Regions from separate parts of the Homo sapiens genome. Here region 1 is linked to region 2. Evidence: promoter capture Hi-C in 16 types of primary human blood cells and fetal thymus (Javierre and others, 2016). All regions are on one chromosome and are shown on one strand. Each heading gives the region's core, a stretch centred on a gene start or on the middle of the fragment in contact. The rest is flanking DNA. Distances are from core to core; before and after follow the strand shown. Region 1 overlaps RYR1 (ryanodine receptor 1). Region 2 holds the start of CAPN12 (calpain 12).

Region 1 (4,420 bases), core at 626-3,125, 200 kb before region 2:
ATACCTTTGTGCCATGGGACTAAGATTTTTTCTTTTTTTTTTTTTTTTTTTTAGACAGAGTCTCACTCTTGTCGCCCAGACTGGAGTGCAGTGGTGTGATCACAGCTCGCTGCAACCTCTGCCTCCTGGGCTCAAGTAATCCACCCCTCAGCCTCCCGAGTATCCAGGACTACAGGCATGCATCACCATGTCTGGCTAAGTTTTTTATTTTTTGTAGAGATGAGATCTCACTGTGTTGCCCAGGGGATCTCAAACTCCTGGATTCAAGCAATCCTCCTGCCTTGGCCTCCTAAAATGCTGGGATTACAGGTGTGAGCCACCATACCCAGCCGGGACTAAGATTTTCATTCTTTAATTTTAACTAAGATGGAATCAGTCTTTGGGTTTAAAATAAATTTTATTCCTCAGGAATATGAAGTTTTGAAAATGAGAATGTTGTTATGAAAGGGATTGCTGTCTCCCAACATATTTGCAACCCAGTCCTCGCCTAAATTCATGACCTAATCAAATAGATATTTGAAATATCTTTCAAATCTCAGACCCCTTGCATGTCTTGAGGAGTCAGTGCTATTCAAAGCAGACAAAAGGTTTGTCTCTCACTTATTTGCACATGTCTATAACAGGTGTTGTCAGTTGCCAGAATTTTTTTTACAGGAGCTGTGTATCTTTTATTTTTGCATATAGCCCAATTTAAATTAACACAATTTAATTTAACAATTTAAATTAACACAAATAAAGGAGTTAGAAAGCAGGGTTGATGGGAAAACCTGTACCTTTGCTTATAAAATTTTGAATATTTGAGTATGCTTTGTCTATGTCATGAAACTAGGCAAAATGGGCCTTCTGTTGAGCCAACCTGATAGAGCAATTGTGAACTGACTGTAAAAAAGTTAAGGGGAAAGAAAAACGGGGGGCAAAAATACTTTCAGGGGCTGTTAAAACCTTCCTGTGCAACATGATGTTGCTATAAACATTTAAAAGGACTTGGCTGGGCACTGTGGCTCATGCCTGTAATCCCAGCACTTTAGGAGGCTGAGGCAGGAGGATCACTTGAGCCCAGCAGTTCAAGACAAGTCTGGGCAACATAAGGAGACCCTGTCTCTACCAAAAAAAAAAAAAATCATATACTACAGTATAATAAACCTCCAATCATATACTACAGTATAATAAACCTCCAATCATATACTACAGTATAATAAACCTCCAATCATATACTACAGTATAATAAACCTCCAATCATATACTACAGTATAATAAACCTCCAATCATATACTACAGTATAATAAACCTCCAATCATATACTACAGTGTAATAAACCTCCAATCATATACTACAGTGTAATAAACCTCCAATCATATACTACAGTGTAATAAATCTCCAATCATATACTACAGTGTAATAAACCTCCAATCATATACTACAGTGTAATAAACCTCCAATCATATACTACAGTGTAATAAACCTCCAATCATATACTACAGTGTAATAAACCTCCAATCATATACTACAGTGTAATAAACCTCCAATCATATACTACAGTGTAATAAACCTCCAATCATATACTACAGTGTAATAAACCTCCAATCATATACTAAAGTGTAATAAACCTCCAATCATATACTACAGTGTAATAAACCTCCAATCATATACTACAGTGTAATAAACCTCCAATCATATACTACAGTGTAATAAACCTCCAATCATATACTACAGTGTAATAAACCTCCAATCATATACTACAGTGTAATAAACCTCCAATCATATATTACAGTATAATAAACCCCCAACTACCCATCACTCAGCTTTAACAGTTTGCTTTCACAGAACAATGTTTTTTAAATAGTGGGAACCAACCCATCAGACAGACGTTCATGAATCAGTTTCACGCAGAGGTTCTCATTGTAATTGTACACTGGCATGCCTGGGGAGCTTTAAAAGAGACTTAAGCCCAGGTTTTGCCTTTACAGGTTCTAATTCAATTGATCTGGGGTTGGGCCTGAGCACTGGGGTTTTTAAAAGCCTCCTAGTTGTCCTGATGTGCAGCCAAGGTTGAGAGGATGAGAAGCACACACTTCTTCTTTTGTAGTTAACTAGAGCAGTACAGGACAGAAAAGAACAGAATGCATGGCACAGAGTAAGGCAATGTGAAACTTCTCTTTCGGGAATAGGTGAATATAATTTCAGATTGAACACATGTATCAGGTCTCAATGTAAAAAGGATTTCCTCGGCTGGGTGTGGTGGCTTACACCTGTAATCCCAGCACTTTGGGAGGCCGAGGCAGGTGGATCACAAGGTCAGGAGTTGGAGACCAGCCTGTCCAATATGGTGAAACCCTGTCTCTACTAAAAATGCAAAAAAATTAGCCGGGCGTGGTGGCGCATGCCTGTAATCCCAGCTACTCAGGAGGCTGAGGCAGGAGAATTGCTTGAACCTGGGAGGCAGAGTTTGCAGTGAACTGAGATCATGCCACTGCACTCCAGCCTGGGTGACAGAGCAAGACTGTATCTCAAAAAAAAAAGGATTTCCTACCATAGATTGCAGTCAGAAAAGATTAAAAAATTACTGCACAAGAATATAAACTTCACAAGGGCAGGGGCTGGACATACGGCTCATGTCTGTAATCCCAGCACTATGGGAGGTCAAGGTAGGAGGGTTGCTTGAGGCCAGGAGTTCGAGACCAGCCTGGGCTGGTCTCAACAAAAAAATTAAAAATTGGCCGGATGTGGTGGCTCACACCTATAGTTCCAGCTACCTGGGAGGCTGAGGTGGGAGGACCACTTGAACCCAGGAGGTCAAGGCTGCAGTGAGCTATGATCATGCCACAGTACTCCAACCTAGGCAACAGAGGGAGACCTTGTCAAAAAAAAAAAAAAATCCCCCCCAAGGCCGGGGACTGTTTTTTTTTTTTTTACTACTGTATCCCCAGAGCCTAGAATACTGCATGACACATAGTAAGAACGCAACAAATTTGTTGTAGCAAAGAGGATGTGACAATCTTAATCTCGTGAGGATGTAGTATACACTCAATAAAATATGTTGAATAAATGAACAAGTGACCAATCCATATGTTCCCTGGCCTTTAGTAGGTGCTCAATAAATATTTGTTGGATAAATGCATGAATATCCCCAGCACATAGGAGGAATTTGATAAAATTGTTTGGAAACTAACGAGGAACTGAATCTCTATTTCTCCCTGCTACATAGTTGGTGGTCAATATACAAATTTGTTGGAAAAAACTGAATGAATAAATGACGCTCCACCACATTTGACACATAGCAGGCCCTCAATAATATTTATATTTTATTTTTTTATATTTATTTATTTTTTGAGACGGAGTTTCACTCTTGTTGCCCAAGCTGGAGTGCAGTGGCATGATCTAGGCTCACTGCAACCTCTGCCTTCCGGGTTCAAGCAATTCTCCTGCCTCAGCCTCCCAGGTAGCTGGGATTACAGGCACATGCCACCACACCTGGCTAATTTTGTATTTTTTTTAGTAGAGACGGGATTTCACCATGTTGGCCAGGCTGGTCTCAAACTCCTGACCTCAAGTGATCCACCCACCTGGGCCTCCCAAAGTGCTGGGATTACAGGTGTGAGCCACCGCTCCCAGCCTATTTTAAAATTATTTATTTATTTATTTATTTATTTTTGAGACGGGGTTTCCATCTTGTTGCCCAGGCTGGACTGCAATGGTGAGATCTCCACTCACTGCAACCTCTGCCTCCGGGGTTGAAGCGATTCTCCTGCCTCAGCCTCCCAAGTAGTTAGGATTGCAGGTGCCCACCACCACACCCAGCTAATTTTTGTATTTTTAGTAGAGACGGGGTTTCACCATGTTGGTCAGGCTGGTCTCAAACTCCTGACCTCAGGTGATCTGCCTGCCTGGGCCTCCCAAAGTGCTGGAATTACAGGCGTGAGCCACCCGGCCAGTATTTTTAGACAAATGAATAAATGATCATCCATCTTTCTCTGTCACATAGTAAGTACTTGATAGTTATTAAATAAATTGATGATGATATGCTTTCTGGCATACAATAGGAACTCAACACATGAGTATTGCATAAATGAATAAATGACCCACTGTTCATCTCCCCTAGCACATGGGAGGTGCTGGATAAATGACTTTTCATCTCCCCAGATTTCCAGAACTACCTACGGACACAGACAGGGAACACGACCACTATTAACATCATCATTTGCACTGTGGACTACCTCCTGCGGCTGCAGGTGAGGACGTGAGACGGTTCAGGTGTGACTTGGGTCGGGGGCTGCAGGGCCATGGTCGGCCCCAGCACCCCCTCACACCCTACCCGCCCCCACCAGGAATCCATCAGCGACTTCTACTGGTACTACTCGGGCAAGGATGTCATTGAAGAGCAGGGCAAGAGGAACTTCTCCAAAGCCATGTCGGTGGCTAA
Region 2 (4,637 bases), core at 14-2,513:
GGAGCATGGCTTCCCTGGGTCTCCAGAAGTTGTGCTGAGCCAGTCCCATGGTAGCCCCCTCCTCCCTCAGACCCGGGAGTCCAGGCCCAGCCCCTCCTCCCTCAGACCCAGGAGTCCATGTCCCGAGCCCCTCCTCCCTCAGACCCAGGAGTCCAGGCCCAGCCCCTCCTCCCTCAGACCCAGGAGTCCAGGTCCCGAGCCCCTCCTCCCTCAGACCCAGGAGTCCAGGCCCAGCCCCTCCTCCCTCAGACCCAGGAGTCCAGGTCCCGAGCCCCTCCTCCCTCAGACCCAAGAATCCAGGTCCCCAGCCCCTCCTCCCTCAGACCCAGGAGTCCAGGTCCAGCCCCTCCTCCCTCAGACCCCGGAGTCCAGGTCCCCAGCCCCCTCTTCCCTCAGACCCAGGTGTCCAGGCCTTGGCCTCTCCTCCCTCAGATCCAGAAGTCCAGGTCCAAGCCCCCTCCTCCCTCAGACCCAGGAGTCCAGGTCCCCAGCCCCTCCTCCCTCAGACCCAAGAGTCCAGGCCCAGCCCTTCCTCCCTCAGACCCAGGAGTCCAGGCCCAGCCCCTCCTCCCTCAGACCTAAGAGTCCAGGTCTCGAGCCCCTCCTCCCTCAGACCAGGGAGTCCAGGCCCCCAGCCTTCCTTCCTCAGACCCAGGAGTCCATGCCTCCAGCCCCTCCTCCCTCAGACCCCAGAGCCCAGACCCCAGCCACACTTTACATGGGGCCTCATCCATTTCACGCCTTTGGCCTTCTCCGAGTCCGGCCCCAGCTGGTCATAGCCAAGGGCATCAGGGCCAGCAGGGAAGTAAGGGTCGCGGAACAGGATCCCCGAATCCAGGCAGGCTGCCCGAATTGCCTCATAGCTCTGGCCCCGAAAAAGCTGCAGGCGCCCGGCTCCGACCCCAGCCTCCTCATCCACGAGCTGGATGGTGACCCTCCCACTGCTGGATGCCATCTGGACACTGGCCTCACAAGCCGGCACCAGGCCCTTTAACCTCCTGAGTCACGGGGGCGGGGCCTCTCTTCCATTGGAGCCCCAGTGGGGTCTTTAGGCAATGAGGAGCCTTCCCTCGTTAATATTAATTGATGGTTTGGGGTGCTGGGGAGCAGGGACGCCTCTTCAGTAGCTTTCTTCCCAGGGCGTGGGGCCTTCAGTTGTGGCCAAGGTAGCAGCTTAATGGGCTTGGCCAGCAGCAGGAGAGAAGGCGGGCAGAGCTGAGGGAGGACCGGCTGCCGCTGTCAGAGCACCAAGAAGGAGGTCAGTGTGGGGGTGAGCTTCTGCCTACTTATGCCTGTGGGGCTGGGGAAGGAGGCGGGTTTACCTCGGTGTCTCTATCTCTCAGACTGCCTCTCTCCCCCTCCCTCTGACAGTTTCTCTCTCCCCGCCTTCATGTTTCTTCTCCATCAGTTTCTGGAGTGCAGTGGCACGATCTCAGCTCACTGCAACCTCCGCCTTCTAGGTTCAAGTGATTCTCCTGCCTCAGCCTCCCAAGTAGCTGGGATTACAGGCTCGTGTCACCATGCCCAGCTAATTTTTGTATTTTTTGTTAGAGAAGGGATTTTACCATGTTGACCAGGCTGGTCTTGAACTCCTGGCCTCAAGCAATCCGCCCACCTTGGCCTCCCAAAGTGCTGGGATTACAGACGTGAGCCACTGTGCCTGGTCAGGTTTTGTTAATTAAAAAAAATTTTTTTTAAAGTAGAGACAGAGGGGTGGCGGGGGGCGGTCCCATATGTTCCCCAGGCTGGTCTTGAACTGCTGGCCTCAAGTGATCCTCCTGCTTCAGCAGCCTCCCAGAGAGCTGGGATTACAGATGTGAGCTACTGTGCCTGGCCCTTTCTTGTTTTTTGTTTCTGGCAATATTTGTGTCTCTGTATTTCCCCAACTCCACCCCTCTCCCCACCCCACCCTCTTTTTTTTTTTTTTTTTTTTTTTGTAGAGATGGGGCGGGGATCTCACTTTGTTGCCCAGACTGGTCTCGAACTCCTGGGCTCAAGTGATCCTCCCCGCTTGGCCTCCCAAAGTGTTGGGATTACAGGCGTGAATCACTATGCCTGTCCCCTCTCTCTTTGTGTCTCTTTCAGCGTGTGTCTGTTCCTCTCTGTACCTGTCAGACCCAGGAGTCCAGGCCCCCAGCCCCTCCTCCTTCAGACCCTGTCAGTGTACCTTGTGTCTGCCTCCCTGTCTCTTCCTCTCCATCTTTCTGTCTGTCCCTGTAACCCATATGTGGCTCCTCCATCATCCACCGAGGGACCCTGAGCTCCCCTCCGCTCACGCCCCCTAAGCCCTCAGGATGCGCCTCCTCCCCTCCCGGACAAGGTAGACTCAGCCTGCTTGCCCAGGGAGGCTGACCCTGGAGGGATGGCTCTGTACCTCTCCTGTGCTGGGAGCCATCTGGTGACCATGATGCCCTGCCCTGGCCCACGCCACTCAGAGTCTGGATGGAGCAGTATTTCCCCCAAAGGACTCTGGAGCCATTGGAGGAAATGGGAGAAACAGGTACGGAGATGCCAGAGCCTCAGCAGTGCTGGTCCCAGCAGACCTTCCACCCTCGTTGAGGGTGTCTGCTGCCCTCCCAGAGCCTTGTCACCTCCACGCCACTCAGATGTCCCTCAAGCCTTTTGGCCTTCTTCCCTCCAAGTGGACCCACAAATATTGTCCAAGCCACCCACGTACACGGCTACCAAAAGTGGGTTACAAAACAGGCTTTCTGGCTGGGCGTGGTGGCTCATGCCTGTAATCCCAGCACTTTGGGAGGCCGAGGCAGGCAGATCACCTGAGGTCAGGAGTTCGAGACCAGCCAGGCCAATGTAGTGAAACTCCGTCTCTACTAAAATACAAAAATTAGCCGGACATAGTTGCGGGCACCTGTAATCCCAGCTACTCAGAAGGCTGAGGCAGGAGAACCGCTTGAATCTGGGAGGCGGAGGTTGCAGTGAGCCGAGATTGTGCCACTGCACTCCAGCCTGGGCAACAGGGCAAGACTGCATCTCAAAAAACCCCCCAAAACAGGGCCGGGCATGGTGGCTCATGCCCGTAATCCCAGCACTTTGGGAGGCTGAGGTGGGCAGAACACTTGAGGCCAGGAGTTCAAGACCAGCCTGGCCAACATGGTGAAACACCATCTCTATTAAAAATACAAAAATTAGGCTGGACGCGGTAGTTTACTACGCCTGTAATCCCAGCACTTTGGGAGGCCGAGACGGGCGGGTCAGGAGTTCCAGACCAGCCTGGCCAACATGGTGAAACCCCATCTCTACTAAAAAATACAAAAAAATTAGCTGGGTGTGGTGGCACGCACCTGTAATCCCAGCTACTCAGGAGGCTGAGGTAGGAGAATCGCTTGAACCCGAGAGGTGGAGGTTTCAGTGAGCCAAGACTGCACCACTGCACTCCAGCCTCGGCAAGAGAGCAAAACTCCATCTCAAAAAAAAAAAAAAAAAGGCCGGGCACGGTGGCTCAAGCCTGTAATCCCAGCAGCACTTTGGGAGGCCAAAGCAGGCAGATCACGAGGTCAGGAGATCAAGACCATCCTGGCTAACACGGTGAAACCCCATCTCTACTACAAAAAATACAAAAAATTAGCCAGGCATGGTGGCGGCCACCTGTAGTCCCAGCTACTCGGGAGGCTGAGGCAGGAGAATGACGTGGACCCAGGAGGCGAAGCTTGCAGTGAGCCGCCACTGCACTCCAGCCTGGTTGACAGAGCAAGACTCTGTCTCAAAAAAAAAAAAAAAAAAAAAAATTAGCTGGGCATGGTGGTACACACCTGTAATCCCAGCTACTCAGGAGGGTGAGGCAGGAGAATCGCTTGAACCTGGGAGGCGGAGGTTGCAGTGAGCCAAGATCACGCCACTGCACTCCAGCCTGGGTGAGAGAGTGAGACTCCATCTCAAAAAAAAAAAAAAAAAAGTTTTCTTCGTGTAGGATTGCCAAGCCCACCCCAGCCCCACGGGAGTCATATGGGAGTGCTTCCAGCCTGCCGGGATTAGGAGCCACAGCACCTGGGGTCCAATCCCAGCTCTGCCACCTACACCTGTGTGTCTTTGGGCACATCACTTAACTTCTCTGTGCTTCAGTTTCCTCATCTCTGCAATGCGGATGATGATAGGGCGTACCTCGGAGGGTTGCTGTGGGAAGCGAATGAGTTCGTACGTGGGATGAGTTCAGAGAAGTGCCTGACACAGAGTCGCTGCTCACTGCACGAGGCATTGACCATGCCTTGGCGTTCAAGAGTGTCTGCTGCCCTCCCAGAGCCTTGTCACCTCCATGCCACTCAGATGTCCCTCAAGCCTTCTGGCCTCCTTCCCTCCAAGTGGACCCACAGATATTGTCCAAGCTGCCTACGTACATGGCTACCAAAAGTGGGTTACAAAACGAGCTTTCTGGCTGGGCGTGGTGGGTCACGCCTGTAATCCCAGCACTTTGGGAGGCCGAGGTGGGCGGCCTCGGCCATCCACAGTCAACCTGTCTCCTTGGATCTGGGCTGCTGTTTCTTTCACTTGTTTGTTGGTTTATTTTTTGGGACAGTCTCGCCTCGTCACCCAGGCTGGAGTGCAGTGGCGTGATCTTGGCTCACTACAACCTCCGCCTCCCAGGTTCAAGTGATTCTCCTGCCTCAGCCTCCCGAGTAGCT

The links. The method cuts DNA at HindIII sites, captures the fragments that hold promoters and counts their contacts. A CHiCAGO score of 5 or more calls a contact.
Region 1: a fragment that was not itself captured here is called in contact with the fragment with the promoter of CAPN12 in region 2 in 1 of 17 cell types (erythroblasts); the score reaches 5.1 in erythroblasts.

Annotation. Positions count from the first base shown.
Region 1 is chr19:38,539,207-38,543,626 of GRCh38, forward strand. RYR1 (ryanodine receptor 1) reads left to right here. Exons shown (of 106, transcript NM_000540.3): 85 at 4,141-4,229; 86 at 4,326-4,420. Among named protein-coding and RNA genes, the nearest start is that of MAP4K1-AS1, 55 kb to the right of the region's middle. The HindIII fragment of the contact is 8,158 bases long and covers 1-4,420 here.
Region 2 is chr19:38,743,211-38,747,847 of GRCh38, forward strand. CAPN12 (calpain 12) reads right to left here and starts at 1,264. Exons shown (of 21, transcript NM_144691.4): 1 at 719-1,264. The coding sequence starts at 955. The HindIII fragment of the contact is 36,048 bases long and covers 1-3,665 here.